7 separate regions of the Homo sapiens genome follow, and all the other regions are linked to region 7. The links are contacts of gene promoters, found by promoter capture Hi-C in blood cells and fetal thymus (Javierre and others, 2016). All regions are on one chromosome and are shown on one strand. The core of a region is centred on a gene start or on the middle of the fragment in contact, and the rest is flanking DNA. Distances in the headings are between cores, read along the strand shown. Region 1 overlaps PRDX4 (peroxiredoxin 4). Region 2 has its middle 15 kb from the start of PRDX4. Region 3 has its middle 41 kb from the start of PRDX4. Region 4 overlaps PDK3 (pyruvate dehydrogenase kinase 3). Region 5 overlaps ACOT9 (acyl-CoA thioesterase 9). Region 6 overlaps ACOT9 (acyl-CoA thioesterase 9). Region 7 holds the start of KLHL15 (kelch like family member 15).

What was found. Contacts are between HindIII fragments. The CHiCAGO score rates a contact against its expected background, and 5 or more counts as called.
Region 1: a contact is called between a fragment that was not itself captured here and the fragment with the promoter of KLHL15 in region 7, in 14 of 17 cell types (naive B cells, naive CD8 T cells, non-activated CD4 T cells and 11 more). The highest score is 14.0, in naive B cells.
Region 2: a contact is called between a fragment that was not itself captured here and the fragment with the promoter of KLHL15 in region 7, in 3 of 17 cell types (total B cells, activated CD4 T cells and neutrophils). The highest score is 6.3, in total B cells.
Region 3: a contact is called between a fragment that was not itself captured here and the fragment with the promoter of KLHL15 in region 7, in 1 of 17 cell types (total B cells). The highest score is 5.8, in total B cells.
Region 4: a fragment that was not itself captured here is called in contact with the fragment with the promoter of KLHL15 in region 7 in 1 of 17 cell types (non-activated CD4 T cells); the score reaches 6.7 in non-activated CD4 T cells.
Region 5: a contact is called between a fragment that was not itself captured here and the fragment with the promoter of KLHL15 in region 7, in 16 of 17 cell types (neutrophils, monocytes, activated CD4 T cells and 13 more). The highest score is 16.9, in neutrophils.
Region 6: a fragment that was not itself captured here is called in contact with the fragment with the promoter of KLHL15 in region 7 in 16 of 17 cell types (M0 macrophages, naive B cells, total B cells and 13 more); the score reaches 13.2 in M0 macrophages.

Annotation. Positions count from the first base shown.
Region 1 is chrX:23,672,043-23,675,066 of GRCh38, forward strand. It overlaps PRDX4 (peroxiredoxin 4), which reads left to right. Exons shown (of 7, transcript NM_006406.2): 3 at 2,948-3,024. Among named protein-coding and RNA genes, the nearest start is that of PRDX4, 6.1 kb to the left of the region's middle. The HindIII fragment of the contact is 4,829 bases long and covers 1-3,024 here.
Region 2 is chrX:23,650,552-23,654,597 of GRCh38, forward strand. No RefSeq gene overlaps it. Among named protein-coding and RNA genes, the nearest start is that of PRDX4, 15 kb to the right of the region's middle. The HindIII fragment of the contact is 2,402 bases long and covers 506-2,907 here.
Region 3 is chrX:23,624,010-23,628,151 of GRCh38, forward strand. No RefSeq gene overlaps it. Among named protein-coding and RNA genes, the nearest start is that of PRDX4, 41 kb to the right of the region's middle. The HindIII fragment of the contact is 211 bases long and covers 2,418-2,628 here.
Region 4 is chrX:24,487,125-24,490,901 of GRCh38, forward strand. All of the region lies in intron 1 of PDK3 (pyruvate dehydrogenase kinase 3), which reads left to right. Among named protein-coding and RNA genes, the nearest start is that of PDK3, 24 kb to the left of the region's middle. The HindIII fragment of the contact is 2,369 bases long and covers 394-2,762 here.
Region 5 is chrX:23,722,752-23,726,552 of GRCh38, forward strand. ACOT9 (acyl-CoA thioesterase 9) reads right to left here. Exons shown (of 16, transcript NM_001037171.2): 7 at 1-2. Among named protein-coding and RNA genes, the nearest start is that of ACOT9, 19 kb to the right of the region's middle. The HindIII fragment of the contact is 5,864 bases long and covers 1-3,801 here.
Region 6 is chrX:23,698,382-23,702,616 of GRCh38, forward strand. It overlaps ACOT9 (acyl-CoA thioesterase 9), which reads right to left. Exons shown (of 16, transcript NM_001037171.2): 16 at 2,674-4,235. Among named protein-coding and RNA genes, the nearest start is that of PRDX4, 33 kb to the left of the region's middle. The HindIII fragment of the contact is 1,062 bases long and covers 1,677-2,738 here.
Region 7 is chrX:24,024,601-24,028,669 of GRCh38, forward strand. KLHL15 (kelch like family member 15) reads right to left here and starts at 2,586. Exons shown (of 4, transcript NM_030624.3): 1 at 2,540-2,586; 2 at 257-458. RefSeq lists silencers at 338-417, 428-577, 588-657, 738-1,177, 1,188-1,287 and enhancers at 950-1,454, 1,455-1,958, 3,166-3,665. The HindIII fragment of the contact is 3,234 bases long and covers 2,210-4,069 here.

The sequences.
Region 1 (3,024 bases), core at 525-3,024, 350 kb before region 7:
ACAAGGTCAAGAGATCGAGACCATCCTGGCCAACATGGTAAAACCCCATCTCTACTAAAAATGCAAAAATTAGCTGGGCGTGGTGGTACGCGCCTGTAGTCCCAGCTACTCGGGAGGCTGAGGCAGGAGAATTGCTTGAACCCTGGAGGCGGAGGTTGCAGTAAGCTGAGATAGTGCCACTGCACTCCAGCCTGGCGACAGCGAGACTCCATCTCAAAAAGAAAAGAAAAAGAAAATTAAGCCATTTTCTCTAGTGATACCATGTAACTGTGGTTTTTCCATTTTTATTCTTTGCTGCATCTGTTGCTTTTCTGGGATTTGAACATTTTGCTGAAAATATTATATACTGCTTAAGGAATAAGGAATAACACCTGTGTATATGTTATGGTTATTGTGGGGTTTCTCGTCTTTTTTTAACTCTGTGACAGTGAGCGTTTTTGTATATGGTCAGAAAGTTGACTAAAAGTAAATACCCTTACAGCTTTATTCACGTTGAGGATTTAATTTTATTTTACAAAACACTATTTTGAGTGTTTTTCAAAATTCATGAAAGTGAGAAGAGACCAAAAAGAGTTATGTCAATTTTTATCTTTTATTCTCTTGGAACTTACTTTTTGGTTACAACAAATAACTAGAAGTTTCCTCCTCTATCTTTGCCACTGTGCCTTTTTCCATTAGGACTAATCTGGAACTACATAGATCAAATTTAAACTTGCAGGGAGGGTATACTTAAGCTCATTGCTATAGGTTGTTTCTAGGCCAGGGATTAACAAATTTTTTCTGCTGGATTTGGCCTATTGACCTATTTGCCAACCCCTGCTCTAAGCCACAAAGGAAGAATTCTCATGAAAATTATTACATTGAGACTAAAGTTATGAGTCTGCATAATATATAATCTTTTAAATTATAAGAACTTGCTTCTTTCTAATCAACTCATATTGTGACTTGATTTTTTTAAGTATAGCTTAATTTCTAATAGAAACCAGAAGTAGAAATTTCAGTAGACATAAAAAATGACAGGCCTTCTAAATTCATGTTGTTATAAAACCAGAAGGTTAACATGTATGTTAAATATATACGACTAACACCCTGAATTTGGAAGTTAGTCTAATGTAGCAGAAAAATATGTTCTGTGTTTCTCCATTGTTATTCATAACTCCATAATGGGTAAGAGATAGTTAATTGGAGCATGTTGTTAGCAATGGTCTTCTGGGACAAGGAGCTAAGATAGCCTCTTCCTGTTTTCATGTAATGCTGGACTGTGCCTGGTTAGAGAAGGAAGAATTCTGGGGCATTTGCCACAGTCTACAAGGAGGAAAGTTACAAACGTAACCCTTCAGTTTCCTGCCAAAACTTTTTCTGTCTTCACTAAGAAGTTGGTCAAATGTATCTCTAGGTAGCATTCCTTGAAATAAGAAGAAAGGCAGAGGCTGGGTGCAGTGGCTCACGCCTGTAATCCCAGCACTTTGGGAGGCCAACATGGGCGGATCACCTGAGGTCAGGAGTTCTAGACCAGCCTGGCCAACAAGGTGAAACCCCGTCTCTACTGAAAATACAAACAAAATTACCCGGGCGTGGTGGTGGGCGTTTGTAGTCCCAGTTACTCAGCAGGCTGAGGCAGGAGAATTGCTTGAACCCGGGAGGCGGAGGTTGCAGTGAGCTGAGATCGCGCCACTGCACTCCAGCCTGGGTGACAGAGTGAGACCCTGCCACAAAAAAAAAAAAAAAGGAAGGCTGAGGCTGACCATTCCTACCCTTTAGAAAATATTAAAAATACATTTTATAGCCCAGGTTTCCAGGGACATCATCCGAGATTAGAACTGTCTACTTGGACATGACAGTGCTGTACCTGAATACCTGAAACATGTTAAAATCCTGTATTGGTATCTGGTAGGAACTTGTGCCCTAACTAAGTCTATGTTTTTCAAACTTTCTTGACCATGTCTCACAGTAGGAAATACATTTTTCGTTGTCAGCCAGTACACAGGCACATATATATACGGTAACATTCCATCTGGATGCACCAGCACAGCCATGCTCCTTAAAATACTGAAAAACCCTCATATCATGTGGTAAATAGCCACTTCCCTTTCCTCACCAACTAGTTAGTCCTCCTGCCTGATCCCTTTCAGAAACCTCCAGAACTAAAGCCAGCTTTGAGTTAAGATTGTTAAATATTTTGAATATCATCACTGTTGAAGACAAACATATATATTTGTATATATAAATATGTGTTTCATAATTTACCCTTAGTATGTATGATAGAGTCTCCTGTTTTCTATTCGATTTCACTTTTTAAAAATATTTTTTAGAACTCAGTTAATTTAAGGAGTCCCTACCACGGTTTGAAAAAATGCCACCCTAGTAATATTCTGTAAACATGGCCTGACAACATGAGGGTATTAAGGTATAAAATCCCTGGCTGCACAGGACTGGTAGACAAGGTGGAAGAGGACCTTATCAAGAAAGGAGGGGTGGGGGTACTGGAAAACATTGCCTCCTCTCCAAAATACACATAGATGCATCTAATTCATAGGGTTGGTATAGGAATATTAAAAAAAAAATAGTGAAATGACATAAAATTTGTATAGATCCTTTGAAAGCTATAAAATACTATATAAATAAAAGGTATTATTAAATAAAAGTAATAAAATGAGGGGTGGCTATTGCTATAAGGGAGAAGGGAACATTGGTTGACTACTGATCTATTAAGTTGTAATAAGAAAGTTTATTGAGATGTAGTTGGGAACTCTGTAATATGTTTCTGTCTTAAATATTTGATTAAATGACAGTCTTTTAGACTACTCCATTTTGAAAAGGTTCAAATATAAAATTGTTCTTAATGTGCATTTTTATTATTAAAGGTATTTGTAAAAATTGTCATTTGAAAGTTTAGGTATATGCTTATTTGGAGAATACTGAATATTTTTTTTTTTTTACCTTTCAGCACATTTGTGTGTCCAACTGAAATTATCGCTTTTGGCGACAGACTTGAAGAATTCAGATCTATAAATACTGAAGTGG
Region 2 (4,046 bases), core at 457-2,956, 370 kb before region 7:
TCATTTAAGGACTTCTCTGCACTGGTTATTCTAGTTACCCATTCGTCTAATCTTTTTTCAAGGTTTTTAACTTCTTTGCGTTGGGTTCGAACTTTCTCCTTTAGCTCGGAGAAGTTTGATCGTCTGAAGCCTTCTTCTCTCAACTCGTCAAAGTCATTCTCTGTCTAGCTTTGTTCCGTTGCTGGTGAGGAGCTGCATTCCTTTGGAGGGGGAGAAGTGCTCTGATTTTTAGAACTTTCAGCTTTTCTGTTCTGTTTTTTCCCCATCTTTGTGGTTTTATCTACCTTTGGTCTTCGATGATGGTGACGTACAGATGGGGTTTTGGTGTGGATGTCCTTTCTGTTTGTTAGTTTTCCTTCTAACAGTCAGGACCCTCAGCTGCAGGTCTGTTGGAGTTTGCTGGAGGTCCACTCCAGACCCTGTTTGCCTGGGTATCAGCAGCAGAGGCTGCAGAACAGCGAATATTGCTGAACAGCAAATGTTTCTGCCTGATCTTTCCTCTGGAAGCTTCGTCTCAGAGGGGTTCCCGGCCATGTGAGGTGTCAGTCTGCCCCTACTGGGGGGTGCCTCCCAGTTAGGCTACTCGAAGGTCAGGGACCCACTTGAGGAGGCAGTCTGTCTGTTCCCAGATCTCAAACTCTGTGCTAGGAGAATCAATACTGTCTTCAAAGTGGTCAGACAGGGACATTTAAGTTTGCAGAGATTTCTGCTGCCTTTTGTTTCGCTATGCCCTGCCCCCAGAGGTGGGGTCTACAGAGGCAGGCAGGCCTCCTTGAGCTGCAGTGGGCTCCACCCAGTTCGAGCTTCCCAGCAGCTTTGTTTACCTACTCAAACCTCAGCAATGGTGGGCGCCCCTCCCCCAGCCTCGCTGCCGCCTTGCAGTTCAATCTCAGACTGCTGTGCTAGCAATGAGCGAGGCTCCGTGGGCTTGGGACCCTCCAAGCCATCCGTGGGATATAATCTCCTGGTGTGCCGTTTGCTAAGACTGTTGGAAAAGCGCAGTATTAGGGTGGGAGTGACCCGATTTTCCAGGTGCCATCTGTCACCCCTTGCCTTTTCTAGGAAAGGGAATTCCCTGACCCCTTGCGCTTCCTGCCTCGCCCAGCTTCGGCTGACACTCGGTGGGCTGCACCCACTTTCCTGCCCCCACTGTCCAATGAGCTCCAGTGAGATGAACCCAGTACCTCAGCTGGAAATGCAGAAATCACCCGTCTTCTGTGTCGCTCACGCTGGGAGCCGTAGAATGGAGCTGTTTCTATTCAGCCATCTTGGAACCATCCCCTCTGCTAAGGTTTTTTGTTGTTGTTTTATTTTTTATCAATATATAACAGTTGTACATAGTTTGAGGGTACATGCGATATTTTGATATATGTATGTAATGTGTAATGACCCATTTTCTTTGAGAATTTGAGTCATTTTTCAATGGCACCTGCTGTCTGGGGATAGTATGTGAATTAAATAGTTCATTGCAGGGAGTACTGTTTGCTGTAAAGGTTGCACCAATGTGTAACTGCATGTGGTTGGTGAATCCAAATATTAAACCAGTCCAACTAACAGTTATTTCAAAGAATTCCACATCTGCTGTGTGCACAGGATTGACAAGGCCATACACAGAAAAGGGATCTACTGCAGCCCATGAACAGTGGTAACCTTGAGAAAGGGTACAGCGCCAGGTCTGAACTATCTGCATGTGGGATCCAGAGATCTTTCTACTCGACTAGACAGCTGGCACCCTGGACACATTTGCCAGACTCCCTTGGTCTCATATGCTGGAAACAGTAAGTCTTAATTTGGGGCCAGATCCTGCATTGCAGATGGACTACCATGCCTTGTTACATAGTCTATCAAGGTAGCCATTATCTCAACATGGGCAGGACATGTCTGATGAGCTTATTAATTCCACTAATTTTCATCCCCAAATGGATTTTATCCACAAGGATTTACATGGGGCATAAATAGGAAGTATGTATTTTATGCAATTACCTGATTATAGCTGCCACCTCTGAGGCTGAGACTTGATCATATAGTCGGCCCCCTGCCAGGCATTAGTCCACACTGTCAGCCCATGGGCACCTTCCCAGGAGTGATTCAAAATATAACAAGGTGAATTGGGGGGCCATTTCTAAGGCAAGCACTGCAGCCTATATCTAAACCAATACATCAGAATTTCCTTTTCATGCACAGAAGCAAGCAGGTTGTGTACAGAATGTACAATTTCTGCAGCCTACTACACCCCATCTGCCTTCAACTTAGTGGATGCATCCATGAACAAGACTCAGGAACACTCAGGAACCTGGATGCACCAAAGCCACCAGGAACAACAAGGTGGCACAGTCCCTGCATCTGACACAGCCACAGCTAGAGGGTGACTGGACACTTTTTCCTACACCTCCAAGATACCTTTACTATCTGATGTACTTCTTCTCTAGAAATACCCTTTTCCCTTTAAAATGAATGTTTCTTAGCCAAAACTCACTTTAATAGCATTCTCATTTGGGATTCATCCCATAATAAAGAATTCAGGGTGTATCAAGACCTGCTCTTGTCTTGTTACTCTGTTGATGTCCACCAACACCAACTAACAAGCCATCAAAAGCCTCTAAAGTGACATATATCAAGTGATAGTTTCAGACAAGGACCACAAATGAATCCCAAAATGTGCTATTACCTTTAACGAAAGAGCCACGTCTTTTGCTGTAAGTTTTTGTCTGCATTAATAGCAGTTACTGACACTTTCTTTCAAAATGCCTCTGGGTGACTTGCCTCAGTGGCAAGGTGATCTAGACAACTTGTTGGAGAGTTTCTAAGGCAGGCTGTTGGTCAAGCTGAATGCCTTTCAAGCAATCTTATGTAATGAGCTGACAGAATCTCTATGTTATGTGCATGAAATATATCCAATACTAAACAAGCTTATAATGTTCTGTGCCAAATTTGGTTTTAGGGCAGTTTTAAGACCATCAGTTTTTCCTGAACAGGCTCAAAGATTATACTCTGGGCACCAACCCACATGGTTCACCAGAACTATAGCTAAATGACTGGCTGTTGATTCTTGTCAGGATTAATCTTCCAGTGCTGGTCACTCAGATATTGGACTATTAAACACAGACAATACTGTGTCCATAGCCCTTACAATCAGAATAATGTCATCATTTAAAGACACCAGGACAGCTCCGGTTAGATTTCAGTCTTTTGTAGGTTTCATCCTATCCACTGATGAGAAATCACAATGTTTTGGTTATTATGAGGCAGCAGGTGAACATATATTATAATCTATGAAGCCAAAAAGCCTCTGAAAAAATAATGCAGGGGTGCTGAAGAAAGCAGTAGCATGTCCACCACCACAAACCAGGCCATTCTTTCTCAACAATGAACTCTGTGATCACTTTGATATCTGCAAGTGGAGCAAAAATGAGGACTGTTGCCATATTGAGCTTGTGATATGGTACAGGGAAGCATCAAATACTACAGGGTTTTTTGATCAACTAAAGGAACTCCTTTCACCAGCCCCCAACATGGAACCCTATACTGCTTTACTTATGCCCCACGGCTGGGTTGGAGAAGGCTGGCAGGCTCTGGGTTACCTATTCGACCAACTACCACTACTCTATCATGGCATTTCCCCCACTGGAAATAGCCCTTACAATCAAGAGAAGAATTACATATACTTAACACAACTCTTTCCACAAAACACTCAGCAGTATCAATTATAATATATTGCCTATGTATTAACCCAAAAAGGCCCACCCGTAAACTCACATCAGTCCATAGTCCAATCTGACAGCTATTCCCACATCCAAAGTAAATTTTTGACCGTGCCCTTTGGGACTTCTTAGAGCCAAAGTGACTTGTGTCCCCATGCCCATAAGGACTGAAAAGGCTTGACTACTTTAAGTCCTCAACCCTTGACTACATCAAGTTCCCAACATACCTTGATTGGTGCATAAAGCCTCCAGTTCCATTTAGAGAAGGAAGGGCCACATCCTCTACCCTAGACTTGTATGTTCTTAAAAGGAGAAAGATCTGGGCCAGGTGCGGTGGCTCTTGCT
Region 3 (4,142 bases), core at 1,273-3,772, 400 kb before region 7:
TGGTGAACTCTGACCACTGTTCTCTGTTCTAAATTTCTTCCTGAGGGCCTTGGAGTCACACTCCAAAGCCAATTAACATTTTTTTCTGCTGACCCAAAATTTTTAAACAAAGCTTTCCTTCCTTAACCAATTGCAAATCAGAAAACCTCTGAATCTACTTACAACTTGTAAGCCCCGCTTCAACATATCCTACCCTTTTAGGCCAAACCCAATGTGTAACCTCGACGCATTGATTTATGATTTTGCCTGTAGCTTCTGCTTTCTTGAAATTTAACCCTGCCTTTAAAAAGCCTTACCTGCAGCCACCAAAGAGGTCAGTATTTGAGCAATAGCTGCCTAGTTCTCCTTGCTTGGCATTCTGCAAATAAACACCTTCTTTTCTATTGCTGCAGAAACCTCAGTGTGGATATCTGGTTTTACTACATCAGGCAAGCAGACCCCAATTTGGTTCTATAACACCACTGTTCCAATCATGGCATTTCCCCATTGGAAACATCATTTATAATCAAGAGAAGAATCACAAATACTTAACACAGCTCTTCCCACAATCCACTCAATAGTATCAGTTACAACATCTTGCGTGTACTGTTCCATAAGAGCCCACGCATAAACTTACATCAGTCTAATTTGAGACTTATTTCCACATCCAAAGTAAAAATTGTACCATGCCCATGGAGGCTTCAAGGCATTACAGGGACTTGTGCCTCAGCATCCATAAGGACTGAAAAAGTTTGGAAAGTGATGCCAAGCCTCCAACACACTTTGACAAGTGGATAAAGCCTCTAGTTGCTATTAGAGAAGAATGGACCTCACCTTTACCCTAGACCTATTTGTTCTTTTTTTTTTTTTTTTGAGATGGAGTCTCACTCTTGTCTCCCAGGCTGGAGTGCAATGGCGCGATCTTGACTCACTGCAACCTCCGCCTCCCGGGTTCCAGCAGTCCTCCTGCCTCAGCCTTGCGAGTAGCTGGGATTGCAGGCATGTGCCACCACACTCGGCTAATTTTTGTATTTTTAGTAAAGATGGGATTTCACCATGTTAGCGAGGCTGGTCTCGAACTCCTGACCTCAAGCAATTTGCCCGCCTCGGCCTCCCAAAGTGCTGGGATTACAAGTGTGAGCCACCGCACCCGGCTATTTCCTCTTGAAAGAGGAGAAGTCTGGGTAGAAATGTGGTGTTGAAGGTGTTAGATCAACAACATTCCAAACAGCACAGACATTAGCAAGGTTTTCTAGGTCTTCTTGGTCTCCCTCATATCATCAGCAATGTAGTCATGGCCAGGCAGGCTTAAAACATCAGGTAGATTTTTAGGCAAAATGGTGATCTCCTTACAACACTGGGTAGGTGATTAGGCAAAACAATGATCTCCGCTCACTCCCTCCAACACGACTGCCAGTGCTCCCTCATCTGTTTGTGGAGGAGGAAACCTCTATAGACTCATCGGGCTTTTACTCAAACCTATCCTTCATGTTCCTTCCATTCTGTTCATTGTAGAAGTAGACTTCAGAATATCTCTATATAAGTGACTGCACTCTACCAGCAGCTACTGTTTTCCTTGTGGTCATAGGTAATGGCCAGGGGAAAACTGTTTCAATTTCCCAGTAACACAGATGGATACTCAACAAAGAGGAATTGCATTTCTTAGATTTATGTCTAACATGAACTATCAACTCAAGACAGCACGTGTCTCAGAGACAAAGGTGAAAGATCACATGGCCCTTATCATCAAATAATTTATCAATGTGGTCTGTTTATGAGTACCAGTGTTGTGAACATTAAGGTGTTTTCTATTCTGCAGCACTATTCTGGTGGTGGATGGGCAGCACAAAGCCCCCATCCCAAAAGACCACGGAGAAGATGAAAAACTGCCTCATAAAAACTTTTCAAGGAGGATACGTAGGTGAGTGGAAGATGGCCTCAGAGCAATACCTCACAAGCTTCCTATCCTCTTGCATTCTGAGAAGACTGCAAGGCATTCTGCCACATTTAGATAAACCATGCTCAAGCTCTGCCCTATGTGGCCTATATGGGTATCTGTAGGGTGACCAGGACAAAATGTAGATGCAGTGCCCTACACATGGATAACACCTGGGAGTTCCTCCTCCTGGAACATCTGTAAGTCAAAATATCTTCCCATTCATGGTGGAAGCTGATGCTGTCCATTACCCACCATGTGTTACTCTATAGAACTCTAAGTTGTATAACTGGAGACGCACCACGATGAAAGAGGGGAAGAGGGATGGTTTGAATGACACTAGTGAAACAGCATCAGTAAACTTCACTCACAGCCCTAAGTTATAGGAATATGAGATTAGTGTCTGACTCATTAGAAAAAAAATCTGAGGCTGTATCTATCCTTTCCAGAATTTACAAAAGGGGGCTCATTGGGTAGTGACTTCTATCTCCTGTAGAAGAAAAGCTTATGTTCTCCATGTGGAAATATGGACAATAAGAAAGGGAGTGTGATGGGATTTTCTCCACCATCAAGAGGAAAGGATGAAAAGAACTTCCTCCTTGCTTCAAACAAATGGCAAAGAGCATCTGAAGCCTTGTCTTACACCCCTGGAGTGTTGAAACACAAGGGTTAGTAATAAGTTCATATAAGCGAAGTCAAGAACCTGGAGTTTAAGCTTCTCTGCCAGAAGATACAATAAGAAGCTGGCTTGAGAGCAAACTGCACTTTTGCCATATGCAGAAGAAAAGGCTGTAATTTCCAGTGTCACATGTGGAGGCTACAATATTGAATGGCTTCAAACTGTATTAAAACTAAAGTACCCAAGAAGAACCCTTGGAAATAAAAGAGGAAGCCCTACAGAAAAGTGGGCCAAAAGTTCCCAGGGGCTAGGGCACATCTAGTGGCCAGGCAGAGGAAAAACATTCCTGAAAGCCTACCTTAAATAGGAGGTTGAACACAAGCCCTCTCATTTAAGAGATTTTTCAGATGCTCTGTTATTGATTGAATCATGTATTTCAAAAATTCAGATGTTGAATACCTAACATCTAGTATTTCAAAGCACAAATTTATTTGGAAACCGGGGGGTTACAATACTAATAAAGATAAAATAAAGTTCTTATAGTGGTCCTATTCTAATATGAATAGTGTCCTTATAAGAGGAGATTTAGACATAGACACAAATACAGGAGAATGCCATTTGAACATGAAGACAGCCATCTACAAGCCAAAATGAGATGGCTGGACCAGATTGTTCCCTCACAGCCCTCAGAAAAAATAAACCCAGCCAATACCTTGAATTTCAACTTCTAATCAACACACACACATAATATTTGAGGTAGAGAGAGAAAAGAATTCTTAGAAAGAGTTGTTGGTATGGTGGGCATTTTCTCCACATTTGTAAGAGAGGAACAATGATTGCTTCTCACTTGATGTAAACCACTGACAATGAGATTCAGACAAGTTGACTGATGCCCATAAAGGTTGAGGGACACAGGAACTAGCAACTGACTTGTACAAGGAAAAACAGAAAGCTGAGACTGGGGGTGCCCCTGGAGCACAGCAAAAGCTTGCCTGGTAAGTGAACAGCAATTCTACCATTTACAAAAGAAAAATACTTGATTTCCAGAATCCATTTGTGGACCTGGGGGAAGAAAAGAGCCTGAGAATACCTTTAAAGGAATATCAGCCAAGAGAACCACATGGAGGTACAAAAAGAGCTCAGTACTGGTAGATACCACAAAAGGCCAAGGAACTATGGGGTGGGGGGGGCATGCAGTTTAAGTGACCAATCAGAAGAAAGGCCCCGCATCGGGCAGGGGCATGATGTCTGAAGTCCCCATGAGATCTTCCACTCAGGATTTCTTATCTCAGAACCCCATACCTGCATTACAAAGCGAATCATGCAAGAGTGTGATTTTCTCCCTGAGCCCTTCTCTTGCTCTCTCAAGGTCTCATCAGGGGGATAAAAATAAGCAAATACTCAACTGGGGTATAGATGGAGAAAATAAAGGCCAAAAAATGGGTGCCATTTCCACTCCCAACCCATATATGCACGTCACCCGCAGGATTCCAATACTCAAGCAAGCCTCATCTGGGAGTAGAAGATCTTGCCCAAGATTCAGGAAATGATGTATTGATTATTACACTAGAATAAGCTTCTTACAAGATGGAAGTAGCCACAGGACAT
Region 4 (3,777 bases), core at 328-2,827, 460 kb after region 7:
TAAAAAAGTGATTCTTTGAAGGACATTCACAACCATTTGGTAGGTCTCCATTCACATGTCAGATTGTTTCTTCTGAAGGACTATTCAATTAATCATTGTTTAACCCTAGTAAATCAAAAAATTAATGACTTATTCTAAAATTCAGTGTTTTCAACAGATTGAAATCTTATAACTACAACTAGAGAAAAGAAGTTGAAGAGCTCACCTGCACACATGGACATAAACATGGGGACAACAGACACTGTAAACTACTAGACGGAGGGGGAAGTGGGCGCGGGTTGAAAAACTACCTATTGGGTACTGTGCACACTGCCTAGGTGCAACATACACATGGAACAAACCTGCGCATGTACCCCCTGTATCTGAAATAAAAGTTGAAAATTTTTTTTAAAAAGCTTAAAATAATATGTTCTCAGTTATATTTTACCAATTTAAACATGGCTAATGGGAAAAGTACATTGCCAACTCAGACATTTAGTTGGTGATATTAATCGAAAGCATTTAGTTGATGATATTAATAAAAATTATCAGAATGAGCTGGATCATTCTGTTGGGGTTTTTTGGTGCCTTGCGGGTAATTTTTCCATGTATTGCTCTTTATCTCATTATTGCCACTCCCAAACCACCCCCCAACCCCCACCAACTGCTAAAGCTGAACAATGGACAAAGAAAGCCTTCAAGTAATCCAGACAGAGGAGACTCTACATTTTAGGAGGCATGGTCTCTGTTGATTGAAGACAGTACAAAATATGTCCTCAGCCTCTGCTTTAATTAAAAGGTACTTACTATCAATCACTTGAACCTAGGAGGCGGAGGTGGCAGTGAGCCAAGATTGTGCCATTGCACTCCAGCCTGGGCAACAAGAGCAAAACTCCATCTCAAAAAAAAAAAAAAAAAAAAAAAAAAGACACTTATTATCAGGTGACTTGATTAATTGAAGAAATAATTATTTTTTCTGCCGCCTGTAAATTAGTCGAAAAGAGGATTAAAACGAAGCCAGGGTTATCAGCCACTATGTAAACCAGGTATAAAGAAATATGTCTGTGAGCTCCTGCTCTCAGGTGGCTAGCTAAACGCTCTTGGCTACCTCCTGGTCCCACCATAGGGAAGGCTCCCTGCATTACATTGAAAGTCATTTATATTTCTGTGTCTATTCACCCTAGGTCTTGGTGAATGTGAAGCTATATGGAACCTTTCTAGACAAAGCAAATCATACCTTTTGCAAATATAGTAATTGTCTCCAGCTTCCCAATAAAAGGACAAAGTATAAAAAACAAACAGAGGCCAGGCGCAGTGGCTCACGCCTGTAATCCTAGAACTTTGGGAAGCTGAGGCAGGCGGATCATCTGAGGTCAGGAGTTCGAGACCAACCTGGCCAACATGGTGAAACCCCGTCTCTACTAAAAATACAAAAATTAGCCGGGTGTGGTGGTGCATGCCTGTAATCCCAGCTACTCAGGAGGCTGAGGCAGGAGAATCGCTTGAACTCAGGAGGTGGAGGTTGCCGCCACTTGGTGAGCCAAGATTGCGCCACTGCACTCCAGCCTGGGCAACAGAGAGAGACTCTGTCTCAAAAACAAACAAACAAACCAGAAACAAAGGAGAATGAAAGGATCGTCAAACTTAGGAGAAAAACAGAAGAAATGCACATGAGTGTATTTGAGTCTAATGACCTGTTTGCATCCACTAAGTCAGAGTTTTCCAAGCCCCCTCACCTGCTCCCTTTGTCATCTTTGAACTGATACCAGGGAAAAACTTAATTGGTAAATTTGAATAAGATGAAGTATATTGAGAAATGCAGAATAAAAATAGAAAGTCAAAATTAAGGAATGTAGAGAAGCCAAGTAAGTAGGGAAAAAATGAAGTCAAATAATTGGAAAGCAGAACTGGAAAATACACAATATACCAGAAGACTTATCAAAACAGAACCCTCTGGCGAGGACATTCATTTAAAACCAAAATGTTTTTCTTGGTAAGTTTATTATTTAAAAAAAAATGGTTGTTAGAACCTTTTCATTTAAACTGAGTATCCGGCATTAATACATAGGAAAGATACTTTCAATGTACGTGAAGAAAGCACAGAAAGGTTATAAAAATCAGGCATTTCATACTTATTTTTAGGCTAACTAATTAACTAAAAAAGACTTATCCTCCTATTTAAGCTGATATATAATTAAGGTGTCTGAGTACAAAGAATTTGTCCCTAAACCTAATGTAGAATGTAAGAGACAAAACCTGAAATTTTCCAACTACTCTTTTTAAAAAATACGAACTTCTGGACTGAGTGTGGTGGCTCATGCCTGTCATCCCAGCACTTTGGGAGGCTGAGGCGGGCAGGTCACTTAAGGTCAGGAGTTGGAGACCAGCTAGTCCAACATGGTGAAACCTCATCTCTACTAAAAATACAAAAATTAGCTGGGCGTGGTGATGGGCACCTGTAATCCCAGCTACTCAGGAGGCTGAGGCAGGAGAATCGTTTGAACCCAGGAGGCGTAGGTTGCAGTGAGCCGAGATCACACCACTGCACTTCAGCCTGGGCAACAGAGTGGGACTCTGTCTCAAAAAAAAAAAAAAAAAAGAAAAAAAAAGAAATCAACAACAAACAAAGAAAAAAACAAACTTCTGAAAGCATTATCTATTATTTGAAAAAATCATTGAGAAGCTACCATAGGCGAGGCACTATAATATGTGCTATGGGGGATAGAGAGACAGATAAAAGTTTCTTTCCACATGAGTTTTATAACAGGCTGATAATCCAAGGAAGCTTGAAGAAAATGCTTCCTGAAATTTGGTTCTCTTAGACCATGCCTAGTAGTTGAGTTTTAACTATTGCAGAATCATCAGATGAGCCCAGGGAATGGGTTCTCAGGGCTGACCAAGCAGTAACTGACAGTTCGATTGTGTATCCCATGGCCTCAGACTATTCTGTTTGAGCATCATCAGCGTCATTAGTGATTGCTATTTAATTAGCCCCTCTTCTAAGTTTTAAGAATATGTGACTGTTAAATATTGTGGTTTATTAAGTTTTTATTTATAGAGATGGGGGTCTTGCCACATTGCCCAGGCTGGTCTCGAACTCCTGGCCTCACATGATCTTCCCATCTCAGCCTCCCAAGTAGCTAGGATTACGGGCGTGAGCCACTGCCTCTGGTTTAAATGTTAAGCACATGTTAACCCTCACCAAATCTCTGTGAAGTAGATACTGCTCTTTTTTTATAGGTGGTTACAATGAAGTTTAGAAGTGTAAAGAAACTTACCCCTGCTCATGAAGCTTGTGAATGCTCTAGTCAAGATTCAAACCCTGACCTTTGTCATCGAACTTCAGCACCTGACCTTTGTCATCAACGCCCCGCAGGACCATAAGCTTTTCTCTGAATCCTGAACTCAAAAAACTCTGAAAATTGAATTTCTTTTTCATATATTTGCTGCCACAACTCATTTTGTGGCAAAACCAGACCTGAACTGACTTGATTCCATAGTCCTTATCCTACTTACTGGAAATGTTCACGTATTTCACTGCAGCTATGTTGTGGCTCTCTAATACTCTGTATTGTACAATGTATGGTATAGACTCCTTTTTACCTTCCTAAAATTGAAAAACCTTTAAATTCTGAAACCATCTAGATCTGCAACTTCTAGAGAAGAGATGAGAAGCTGACTATGGCCACCTCACACCTGCCAGCCAGCTCTCACTGCTCACAACATGCTCGTATCCTGTGACTCCTAACAGGCTGCCAACTTGGAAATTTAAACATGTATACTTTCATTACCCTCAAA
Region 5 (3,801 bases), core at 745-3,244, 300 kb before region 7:
AACTGCAGGGAAACAGGAGTGTACCAAATTTTAAAAAGGCAGAATTATTTCCCAACATTTAAAATTTCCTCCCTGAGATCCATGAAAAGCCTTGTCTCGCTTGGAAGATCCAGCCCCTAATATTCCATTGATCATCTTATCCTAGGATCAAACACTTTTATAAATTGAAGGATTTGGGAGATCCTCCAATCTGACTGCCCCCTCAATTTTAAGATTTGGTGAAGAAATCAAAGCCCGAAGCAAGCCCAGACCCACCAGACAGCTTGTTACCACTCCACAGAGACTCAGTGCCCAAATCAGAGTAAGAACTCAGCACATGAGTCTGACAGTATCAAACATCTTCAGGAAAGAGAAACAAAGCACAAGGACTTGGCTACCTGTTTTCCTCCTGGCTTTGTCCTAATTAATCATGAAACAATTATTTCACTCAGTTATCCCTCCTTCCCCATAACACCCTTGACTCCTATACCACCCTGTGGTTATCTGTATACTTTCCATATTTTAACAAGCATTTATATGTGCCATGCATGGTTCATGCACCTTACAGATATCAACTCATTTAAAGTCGTATAATTATACGTTGGGCCGGGCGCGGCGGCTCAGCCTGTAATCCCAGCACTTTGGGAGGCCAAGGCAGGCGGATCACGAGGTCGAGAGATCGAGACCATCCTGGCTGACATGGTGAAACCCCATGTCTACTAAAAATACAAAAATTAGCCGGGCGTGGTGGCGTCCCAGTTACTCAGGAGGCTGAGGCAGGAGAATCAATTGAACCCAGGAGGCAGAGGTTGCAGTGAGCCGAGATCGTACCACTGCACTCCAGCCTGGCAACAGAGCAAGACTGTCTCAAAAAAAAAAAAAAAAAAAAAAAAGTTGTATGATTATATGTTGATTGGCTCCCTGCTTCCCCCATGATCCATTCAAATTTGTATCACAAACTCTCAGACAAGATATGTGGCTCAATAAATACTTGTTGAGTAAGTGTAAATCCTTCCATCTATGCACCTGCTAAAGGACACACTGGGGGAATGATAGGCTAAAGGCAATAAACTCCATTTAAAAGTCTTTGTCCAGCAAAGAAATCAGATGGCTCCAACCTATGGCAACAGGAGTAGAAATGAAAAGACTATGAGTTAAGAAGAAGGTAAACCTGAGAAGACTTGAATAAATTCAGTTTTCTAGCTTGCATAGGTAAGCGTGGTGTACTAGTCACTGAAAAAGAGAAGAGAGACTGGGCACAGTGGCTCATGCCTGTAATCCCAACACTTTTAGAGGCGAAGGCAGGAAGATCACTTGAGCCTAGGAGTTCAAGACCAGCCCAGGCAACACAGCAGAGACTCCATCTCTACCAAAAACACAAAAGTTAGCCAGGTGTGGTGGCACATGCCTGTAGTCCCAGCTACTCGGGAGATAGGTAGGAGGATTGCTTGAACCCAGGAGGTCAAGACTGTAGTTAGCCATGATCATGCCGCTACACTCCAGCCTGAACAACAGAGTAAGACTCTGTCTCAAAATAAAAAGAGAATATAGGAAGAAAAGAATGGGCCATTTTCAATGCGTTGAATTTGAAGAGCCTATGGCACATCCAAATGAAGGTATTGGGGAGGGCACAGTTGTTCACACCTGTAATCCTAGGGCTTTGCAAGGCCATAGCAGGAGGATCACGTGAGCCCAGAGCTTGAGACTAGCCTGGGCAACAGAGTGAGACCCCTGTCTCTACAAAAAACTTTAAAAATTAGGCCAGGCATGGTGGATCAAGCCTGTAATCCCAGCACTTTGGAAGACAGAGGCAGATGGATCACTTGAGCCCAGGAGTTCCAGACCAGCCCAGGCAACATGGTGAGATCCCGTCTCTACAGTAAAATACAAAAATTAGCCAGGCATGGTGGCGTGTGCCTGTGGTCCCAGCTACTTGAGAGGCTAAGATGGGAGGATGCTTGAGCCCGAGATGTCGAGGATACAGTGAGTGGTGATCGCACCACTGGACTCCACCCTGGGTGACAGAGCAAGACCCTATTCCAAAAAAACAAAACAAATTAGCCAGGCATGGTGCAGTGTGCCTATAGTCCCAGCTACTCAGGAGGCTGAGGCAGAAGGAACACTTGAGCCCGCAAGTTTAAGGTTGCAGTAGGCTATGATTTTACCACTGCACTACAGCCCGGGCAACAGAGTGAGACTGTCTCTAAAAAAGAAAAATAAATCTAGTAGCTAAGAGGAAAAATTGATTGAAACTCAGAAAAGCAGGCCAGAAAATGTAGCTTTGTAAGTATTCAGCATACTGATAGCAACTGAAACACTGGGAGTAGATGAGTTTATAGAGAATCTGCAACGTCAACCCAAAAAAGGGCAGAAGGGAAGGGTAGAGAAGAGACGGAGGAAAATGTAATATAAATGTAGTTTTTACCACTGATCAGTACACTTAAAAATGATAAAGATGAGCCAGGCGCGGTGGCTCACACCTGTAATCCCAGCACTTTGGGAGGCCGAGGTGGGGGGATCACCTGAAGTCACGAGTTTGAGACCAGCCTGACCAACATGGCAAAACCCCATCTCTACTAAAGATACAAAAATTAGCTGGGCGTTGTGGTAGATGCCTGTAATCCCAGCTACGTCGAAAGCTGAGGCAGGAGAACTGCTCGAACTCGAGAGGCAGAGGTTACAGTGAGCCGAGATGGTGCCACTGCACTCCAGTCTAGGTGACAGAGTGAGACTCTGTCTCAAAAAAAAAAAAAAAAAAAGATAAAGATGGTAAATTTTATATTTTAACCTCAACTGAAAAAATAGGGCTGGGCGCAGTGGCTCACACCTGTAATCCCAACACTTTGGGAGGCCGAGGTGGGGGGATCCCTTGAGTCCAGCAGTTTGGGACCAGCCTGGGCAACATGGCAGACCTTGTCTCTACTAAAAATCAAAAAAATTAGCTGGGCATGGTGGTGTGCACCCGTAGTCCCAGCTACTCAGGAGGCTAAGGCAGGAGGACTGCTTGAGCCAGGAGGTCAAGGCTACAGTGAGCTGTGATCACGCCACTGCACTCCAGCCTGGGTGACAGAGTGAGACCCTGTCTCAAAAACTAAATAAATAATTTTAAAAGATTTAACAATTTTATTGTTAAATTTTAAAATGCCTTAAAATTTAATTAATATGAACAAATTATAAAATTCAAAAGGCCGGGCGCAGTGGCTCACGTCTGTAATCCCAGCACTTTGGGAGGCCGAGGCGAGTGGATCACCTGAGGTCAGAAGTTCGAGACCAGCCCGGCCAACATGGTGAAACCCCGTCTCTACTAAAGATACAAAAAATTAGCCGGGCGTGGTGGTGTGTGCCTGTTATCCCAGCTACATGGGAGGCTGAGGCAGGAGAATCCCTTGAACCCGGGAGATGGAGGATGCAGTGAGCTGAGATAGCGCCATTGCACTCCAGCCTGGGCAACAAGAGCGAAACTACAGCTCAAAAAAAATAAATAAACAAAATAAAATAAAATAAATTCAAAAAATAATCAGTTTTTGAAAGGGCAGAAGACAAAACCCTGGGGATAACCTACATTTAAGGGATCAACAGAAAAAGAGGAACCTACAAAGGGGACTACAAAAGAGCAGCCAGAGAAGCAGAAGGAAATGTCACCAAAGCCCAAGGATGGGCTGGACGATATAAGAAGCCACAAAGGGGTCAGGTCAGCCCTGAAAAGTATCCATTCAACTGTGCAGTAAAGGGGCCAATGGCGAGCTTGGCAAGAGCAGATTCAATGGCGTGGAGGAGCAGAAGCCGGAACACAGCCGACCGGGAAATGTTTAATTAACAGGA
Region 6 (4,235 bases), core at 958-3,457, 330 kb before region 7:
TCCCAGGTGAGCCCAGCCATCCCACAGAATCAAGTATATCTTTAGAAAGATAAACTGCACAAACTAATTGAAAAGAAAAAGAAAAATGTTGAAACCCCAGGGGAGTTGGGTGCAACTTCAGTTCTCTAGGAGTCAAGTGCTTGGCTCTATTCAAAAAGGTGCAAGAAAGCAGATTGGATCAGAGCAAACACAGGTATCAGATGGAACACGTTGACAGAAGATTTGGGTTACCACAGAATCACATGGACATGCCCAACACAGTGCAAAGCATACTAGAATGAAGTAAACTCTCCTAAAGAAACCAGTGAAAAAGACAGCATCCTCAAAGACTACACATTGAAGAAGCATGGAGGCAAAAACTAAGAACTTGGTAATAAATGCCTGAAGTAAAACTGGGATCTCAGCACAGACTATTTAATATAAAACAATGTCCAACTCACATGAGGAAGATGTATGCTAGAACTTAGCAGTGCTGGTGCTGGGTAAAAATTCTCCTTTAACTTTTTTTTCAGACGCAGTCTCGCTCTGTCGCCCAGGCTGGAGTGCAATGGCGCCATGTCGGCTCACTGCAATCTCTGCCTCCCAGGTTCAAGCGATTTTCCTGCCTCAGCCACCTGAGTAGCTGGGATTACAGGCACCTGCCATCATGCCCAGCTAATTTTTGTATTTTTAGTAGAGACGGGGTTTCACCATGTTGGCCAGGCTGGTCTTGAACTCCTGACCTCAGGTGATCCGTCCGCCTCGGCCTCCCAAAGTGCTGGGATTACAGGCGTAAGCCACCGCTCCCGGTCAAAAATTCTCCTTTATTCTTTGAGAGGGACATAACACTAATAATCCAGAACCTAGTGTATATCCGTTAGTTTGCTTCACCTCATCTTCTTAAAAGTCCTGTATTAAAAACCAAAACCTCTAGCTTTTATATCTGTATTGGTAGAGGACAGATTTGGGGTGAAGATTCTGGTATCCAAAATTACGTGAGCAATTTAACAAAAAGACAACAAAAACAATAAGCAATTTAATTTCAATCTCAGTAGAATTCAGAGAAAGGCAATTAACAAATGTCAGTTTTCTTTTTTTGGGGGGGTGGGGGGGGACAGGGTTTCACTTGTTGCCCAGGCTGGAGTGCAGTGGCGTGATCTTGGCTTACTACAGCCTCAAACTCCTGGACTCAAGCAATGCTCCCAGTTCAGCCTCCTGGGTAGCTGGGACTACAGGTGTGCACCATCACTCTGAGAGGAGTTAGCTAGCTTTCCTTAGGTAGACAGCAAGGGAAGGGTCCCCAAAGAGCCCCCAACCCACGGGTCAGTGCCTCATCCCCACAGAACAGAGAAAGCAGCCTGGGGATAAAAATCAAGCTGCAGGCACCGATAAGGGAAGTAGCACAGGGTGGTGGTGTGCCTGGAGACAAGCCCGCGGCTGCACAGATCCGAGAACCTCCAGCCCACTTAGATAAAAACTTGCACAAACCTCCAGCTCACTCAGATAAGGGAACAAGACCTGACATAGAAATGTCTTTGTCTTTTGTATAATCAGCAGGTTCCCGGGAAAAAGTTTCTTCTCCTTTCGTGGGCATTAATACTGTGGGCTCCGACGACTCCGATGGGCACTTTCCTTTCCTCTTTCGACTGTGAGCCCGGCCTCTAAGAATTACTTCAGCACGATTGGTCCCCGGGCCAAGCTTTCACTTCAGCTCCTGATAGGTCCCGGGCCAAGCTGAGTGGTCTCAATGAATCATCAATTCAGCTCCTGATTGGTCCCGGGCCAAGCTGAATCTAGCTTTCTCCAAGACAGCTCACAGACTAAGCAAATTCCTTCCCCTTCCCAGTCCGCAAAAACCCCCGACCCCAACCTCATAGTGGGCAACCCGTTCAGGCCCCCACTCTCCGCTGCGGAGAGCTTTTTTTTTTTTTTTTGAGACGGAATTTTGCTCTTGTTGCCCAGGCTGAAGTGCAACGGCGCGATCCTCAACTCACCGCAACGTCTGCCTCCCGGCTTCAAGCGATTCTCCTGCCTCAGCCTCCCAAGTAGCTGGGACTACAGGCGTGTGCCACCACGCCCAGTTAATTTTGTATTTTTAGTAAAGACAGGGTTTCTCCATGTTGGTCAGGCTGGTCTTGAACTCCGGACCTCGGCCTCCCAAAGTGCTGGGATTACAGGTGTGAGCCACCGAATCCAGCCGAGAGCTTTCTTGTTTTGCTTACTAAACTTTTGCTCCAACCTCACCCTTGTGTTCGTGCTCTGTGACACAAAGAACTCCGGATACTATCTCAGACAACCAAAGACTGCTACATTTTGGCGCACTGGTGAGACTACAACACCTTGCTAATTTTTGTATTTTTGTAGAAACAGGTTTTCACCGTGTTGCCCAGGCTGGTCTTGAACTCCTGACCTCAAGCAATCTGCCTTGGCCTCCCAAAGTGCTGGGATTACAGGTGTGAGCCACCACATCCAGCAGAAGGTCATTCTTCACCTATCAAAATGGCAAAGATATTTTAAAAAGAAAAGATAAAAATTGGCAAAGTTCAGGGAAATTGCTGATGTGTAAGTGATTGTGTGAAACTGTTCTGAAGGGTTACATGAAATACATATTCAAAGCCTTCAACGTGTGCCTACTATTTGACCTAAATATCTCATTTAATATTTTTCCAAAGAAAATAATTTAAGGGTCAAATGTTTTAGAGTATTTAGGATATTTACTGCAACATTGTTTATAATAGCAAAAAAGAAATACTAGAAAAAGCTTCACTGTACAGCAACAAATGGTTAAATATATAATGTATAATCTATACAATAGCATGCAGTAGGTCTCTTAACTCCACTTAACACATTCACAAAACTCCCCAGGGCGCATCCCTCCCCATTAGCCACCTCCCATCATGTCATAGGTAGATATGCAAAATGCTATATTGAAGGGCCAGGTAAATCTCAGTCAGGATGGCATTACGGCATGGAGAGACAAGTTATTATAGTACAGCACATGCTTGATTCCATGAGTCAAACTGCATGCTTCCAAGAGATAGTTGTGTTCGCTCCTGTGACTATTTCATGCCAGAGGTGCTTGTTGACACTGTGATTTCAATAAACATTACATAAACTAATATAAAAAAATTGCTTGAGACAGGGTCTTGCTGTCACCCAGACTGGAGTGCAGTGGCATGATCATAGCTCACTGCAGACTCAAACTCCTGGACTCAAGCAATCCACTCACCTCAGCCTCCTAACTGGGACTACAGGTGCACACCACCATGCTCAGATAATTTTTTAACTTTTTGTAGAGAAAGGGTCTCACTATGTTTCCCAGGCTGGTCTCAAGCGATCCTCCCATCTCAGTCTCCCAAAGTGCTGGGATTACAGGCATGAGCCACCACTGTGCCTGGCCTAAAAATTTTTTGTTAAAAATGCTTTCCACCGGCCGGGTGCAGTGGCTCATGCCTATAATCCCAGCACTTTGGGAGGCCAAGGTAGGTGGATCACCTGAGGTCAGGAATTTGAGACCAGCTGGCCAACATGGTGAAACCGCCTTTCTACTAAAAATACAAAAACTAGCCAGGCATGGGGGCTGACACCTGTAATCCTAGCTACTCAGGAGGCTGAGGCAGGAGAATCGCTTGAACCCGGGAGGTAGAGGTTGCAGTGAGCCAAGATCATGCCACTGCACTCCAGCTGGAGCGACAGAGTGAAACTCTGTCTCACACACACACACACACACAAAAATACTTTCCACCTAATTCTGAGGCAGAGCCAAGTTTGTGAACACTAATGTAGAACCCACAATAAATATTGCTTCCTTCTTGGGAGGACTTTTTTCAGAGATTATTTTTTCTTCTAAGTTACCTTCCTGTCAAAAAAGGAACGGTCTTGGCTACAGATTTTTTTTTTTTTTTTTTTTTGAGATGGAGTCTCGTTCTGTCACCCAGGCTGGAGTGCAGTGGCATGATCACAGCTCACTGCAACCTCTGCCTCCCAGGTTCAAGCAGTTCTCTGCCTCAGCCTCCCGAGTAGCTGGGATTACAGGCGTCCGCCACCACGCCCGGCTAATTTTTGTATTTTTAGTAGAAACGGGGTTTCACCATCTCGGCCAGGCTGGTCTTGAACTCCTGACCTCATGATCCATCCGCCTTGGCCTCCCAAAGTGCTGGGATTACAGGCATGAGCTACCGCGCCCGGCCTTGGCTGCAGATTAACGGGAATACCTCCCTTGGGCTTCCTAGGTGACACTGTGATATTCGGTATGA
Region 7 (4,069 bases), core at 1,336-3,835:
AAATAATCATGGTACCTGCAGCTGTGTGCTGCAAAAAATGGCTGAATTATGCTTCTTCCTTTTTCTTTCTCGCTCTCTCTGGAAAAAAAAATTACATTTCAAACAATTTAAGTAAACTCGAAGACAAACGAGGTCCCGGCGTCTACCAAATGTTTGACTCGGGTCCGTGCAGAGAGGGCCGGCGAATTCGTGCCTAGCTCGGGGCCGCGGGCGAAGCCCGGGCTCCGCAGGCCGGCGGCCAGGGGCGGCTACGTACCTCGGGGGGTCCTGTCCAGCCTCTAGTGGACGGCAGTCTGCATCAGGAAGAACCGGGCCAGCGGGCCGATGGGTGGGCGGTCGGGCGCCGGGACGGCACTCGGCAGGCTCCTCGGACGTCTACGAGCAGCCGCTCCCGGCACGAGCCGGGTCGCTCCGGCGGGGCACGAGAGTGCTCGCCTGCAGCCCCCTCTGGATAAGTCCTGGGAAAGAAGACAGCGCTGAGTCGAGAAACCAGACAGTCGGGCTCCGCACGAGGCGGCGCGGCGTCGGGGCCCGGACCGACCTTGCCAACGCCGGGGGCCTCGCAGCACCCGACGGGGCTCGGCGGGAGGGCCGACTGGGGCCGCGGGCGGGGAAAAGGGCTGGGGGGCAGCAGGCAGAGACAGAAGCACCAGCCGAGGAAGCGTCGAGGACGGCGTCTCTGGGCTTCTGCCCCGAAGCGCGCCGAGCCTCGGGATCACCCACGCCGGGGGTGGAGGAAGGCGGGAAAGGGGCGGGGAAGGGGCGGGGCGTGCGGGGCCACGAGCCGGGGGCCGCTCCGGGCCGCGCGCCCCCTGCGGGCCGCGGGAGCCGCCCGGGGCCCGCCCAGGGAGGCGGGGCTGGCCGGCAGGGGGCCCAGTGCGCTGTCGTCTTGACGCGGAAGGCCGCCACGCTGGGAGAGAGGGCGGAGGGTGGGAAGCCGTTGGGGGCGGGGAGCTGGCCCGGGAGGCCCCCCCCTCGGCCCCTGCTGGCGCCCCGAGGGGGCCAGCCCGTGGCCTGGCGGGTGTTTACCTTCCCCCTGGTCGAGCGCCAATGCCGCCATCTTTCAGCCCAAAACGCGTCACTTCCGGCGCCACGGGAGCGGGAGCGGGTGTGGGAACGGGGGGGAAGGGGGGGCGGGGAAGGCTGTCCCGCGCCCGCGGCGCCCCGCGTCCCGGCTGCCGGCCCGCCACGCCAGCGGTTTCCCACCGAGGAAAACAGGCGGCCGGGCGTCGCGGCCCTGGACTGGGCCCGACGCAGCTTCCCCCGCGGCGCCGCCGTCGGGGCTGAGGACACTCAGCTGTCCTCGTCCCCTTGCAGCGGTCTCTCTCCGCCTGCACGAGCGATGGGCCCTGAGCCACTGCGGTGCGCCCACCCTCGACAAGTTGAGGGCTAGGAAGCCAGGAAAGTGTCTTTTTGCATCTTGGCCACGGTGGGGGTGGGGGAATCGGGGACAACGTGGAGGGAGCTTTTCCATAGCTACCTGTTATAAAAGTGACTAGATCTGCGCCAAATGACATCATTTTTTGTAAGGCAACTTGCAGTGGACTATTGCGTCACTGTCCACTTGGCTTACTGCACAACAATTACACGTTTCAGAAATCGATTTCCCAAGGGTGGGAAAATTCATAAAAAATTGCATGTCTGCACCACCCGGAGATAATGCCGGATTTAAAAAAGCTGTCTCTACTTGCGTCAAAATAATCAAGAACGAACATTCAGAGGGCAGTGATTTTTGTTGTTCGTTTTTTATAGAATTCTAGCTAGTACTTTTTAAATATTACCTTTTCTTGACAAGAATATAAAACTAGACTATAGGACTGTTTTGTAAATTTATTATGGCATCTCTTTCTGGGAAAAGTGTAGATGACGGAAATACACAGTTGGAAGCCCGTGGATCTACAATTAACCTTAAATTAGGGCATCCATTGCCCATAGCAGATCCTAAACTGAGGTATTTCGGCTTCCCCCACCCCCACCCCCCGCCGCCATTTTCTCTCTAGACCAATATCCCGATGAACTTTCCGTGAGAGGTGTCGCTAAAAGCGATAATTATCTCTTTCTAGCAAACTTGAACATACCATCTTTCCCAAGAGGCCAAAATAGCACACGGTGTACTGTTTTGCTGAAGTAGACTACTTCGTGGGAGAGATAACACAATCACTTCAATCTTTTGGAAATACGCTTCCTTATTCCGATTTAAACTATAACAAGCTTTAAAAAAACTGTAAGACACTGAAATTCCCAAGTTGTTCACACTTTCTTTCCATCTTTTCCAATAGCTCCTTTAAGATATTTCTGTTCATTATTTAAAAATCCCTGCTTGCCATATTTGTATCTATTACTACATGACAAATTACCCCAGAATTTCACATTAAAACAAATTTTTAAAATTAAATCATAAAATAAACTTTAAAAATGCATACATTCCACTTCTGAATATTTAAATGTTCATGCATTATTCCCGAACATCTAAACGCTGAGTTTGGATTTTTGTACATTAACTAACATTTTAAGCTATACATTACTATGTGGCACTGACCTGTCTAAAGAGAGGCTTCTGTTCTTGATTCAAGCAAGAGTTGAAACGTTTCTGCGCTCTTTGTACCAGGTATAAATGTAGTGAGTGTATGTCATAAGCCATTGTGTGATCACCGTGCTTCCCGTCCCTCCTTATTTTGACATTGCAAGGTCTCGTGGAATTTCAAATGTGCTTTTTTGGATATTTATGTAGTTTTAAAACTGGGCTGTGTCTTTCAATCAATCTATACGTTTACTATATGAACCCCTCCCCAAGTTATCTTCAATCAATGATGCCTCTTTCACTCTTATTTCTTATTTTTATGTTATTATTATTATTTTTTTTTTGAGACAGTCTCACTCTCGGCCAGGCTGGAGGGCAGAGGCATGATCTCAGCTCACTGCAGCCTTGACCTCCCGGGCTCAAGCAATCCTTCCACCTCAGCCTCCCGAATAGCTAGGACCACAGACGTGCCCCACCATGCTCGGCTAACTTTTCTTTTCTTGTTTTTGTTTGTTTGTTTGTTTTGTTTTTGTTTGCTTGTTTTTTTCTGAGATGGAGTCTGTCGCTCAGGCTGGGGTGCAGTGGATCTCGGCTGACTGCAACCTCCGCCTCCCGGGTTCAAGCGATTATCCTGCCTCAGCCTCCCGAGTAGCTGGGATTACAGGCGCTCGCCACCGTGCCCAGCTAACTTTTGTATTTTTAGTAGAGACGGGGTTTCACTGTGTTGGCTAGGCTGGTCTCAAACCCCCGACCTCATGATCGCCCGCCTTGGCCTCCCAAAGTGCTGGGATTACAAGCGTGAGCCACTGCACTCCAGCTCAGGCAACAGAGCAAAAACACCGTCTCAAAAAAAAAAAAGAAAAGAAAATATATTTTAACTTTCCCCACCAATTTCTGGACTGTAATGGGAGTTGTTAAATACCTTGAGAGTATCCTTTCACACTGGTAGAGTCCCACAGAGGTAGATGGAAGCTGTCTTTTCTTAGCCCTCTAGCCTAAGTATTTGAGAATACACATTCCTCAATAGCTATTTATTTAGCAGCTAGCGAGGTCGGAAGCATGCTAGAAGCCTGGGCCTGGGAGTGCTGGTGGAGTTGGAATGAGGTTCTTCCCCAGGGGTTCTGAGGATTTAGGATACTGCATACCCTCCTCCTCCCTCCTGTTTTTGCTTTTTAAGAAATTGAGGCCAGGCGTGGTGGCTCACGCCTGTAATTCCAGCACTTTGGGAGGCCGAGGCGGAAGGATCATTAGAGGTCAGGAGTTGGAAACCAGCCTGACGAACATAGTGAAACCCCGTCTCTATTAAAAATACAAAAAATTAGCTGGCATGGTGGTGCGGGCCTGCGGTCCCAGCTACTCAGGAGGCTGAGGTAGGAGTATGGCTTGAGCCCAGGAGGCAGAGGTTGCAGTGAGTCGAGATTGCACCACTGCACTCCAGCCTGGACAACGGAACTAGACGCTGTCTCAAAAAAAAAAAAAAGAAAAGAAAAGTTGAGGCTTTTCAGAAATTCCCAGTCTGTGGTAGTTGTCTTGGTAATCACTTTTCTT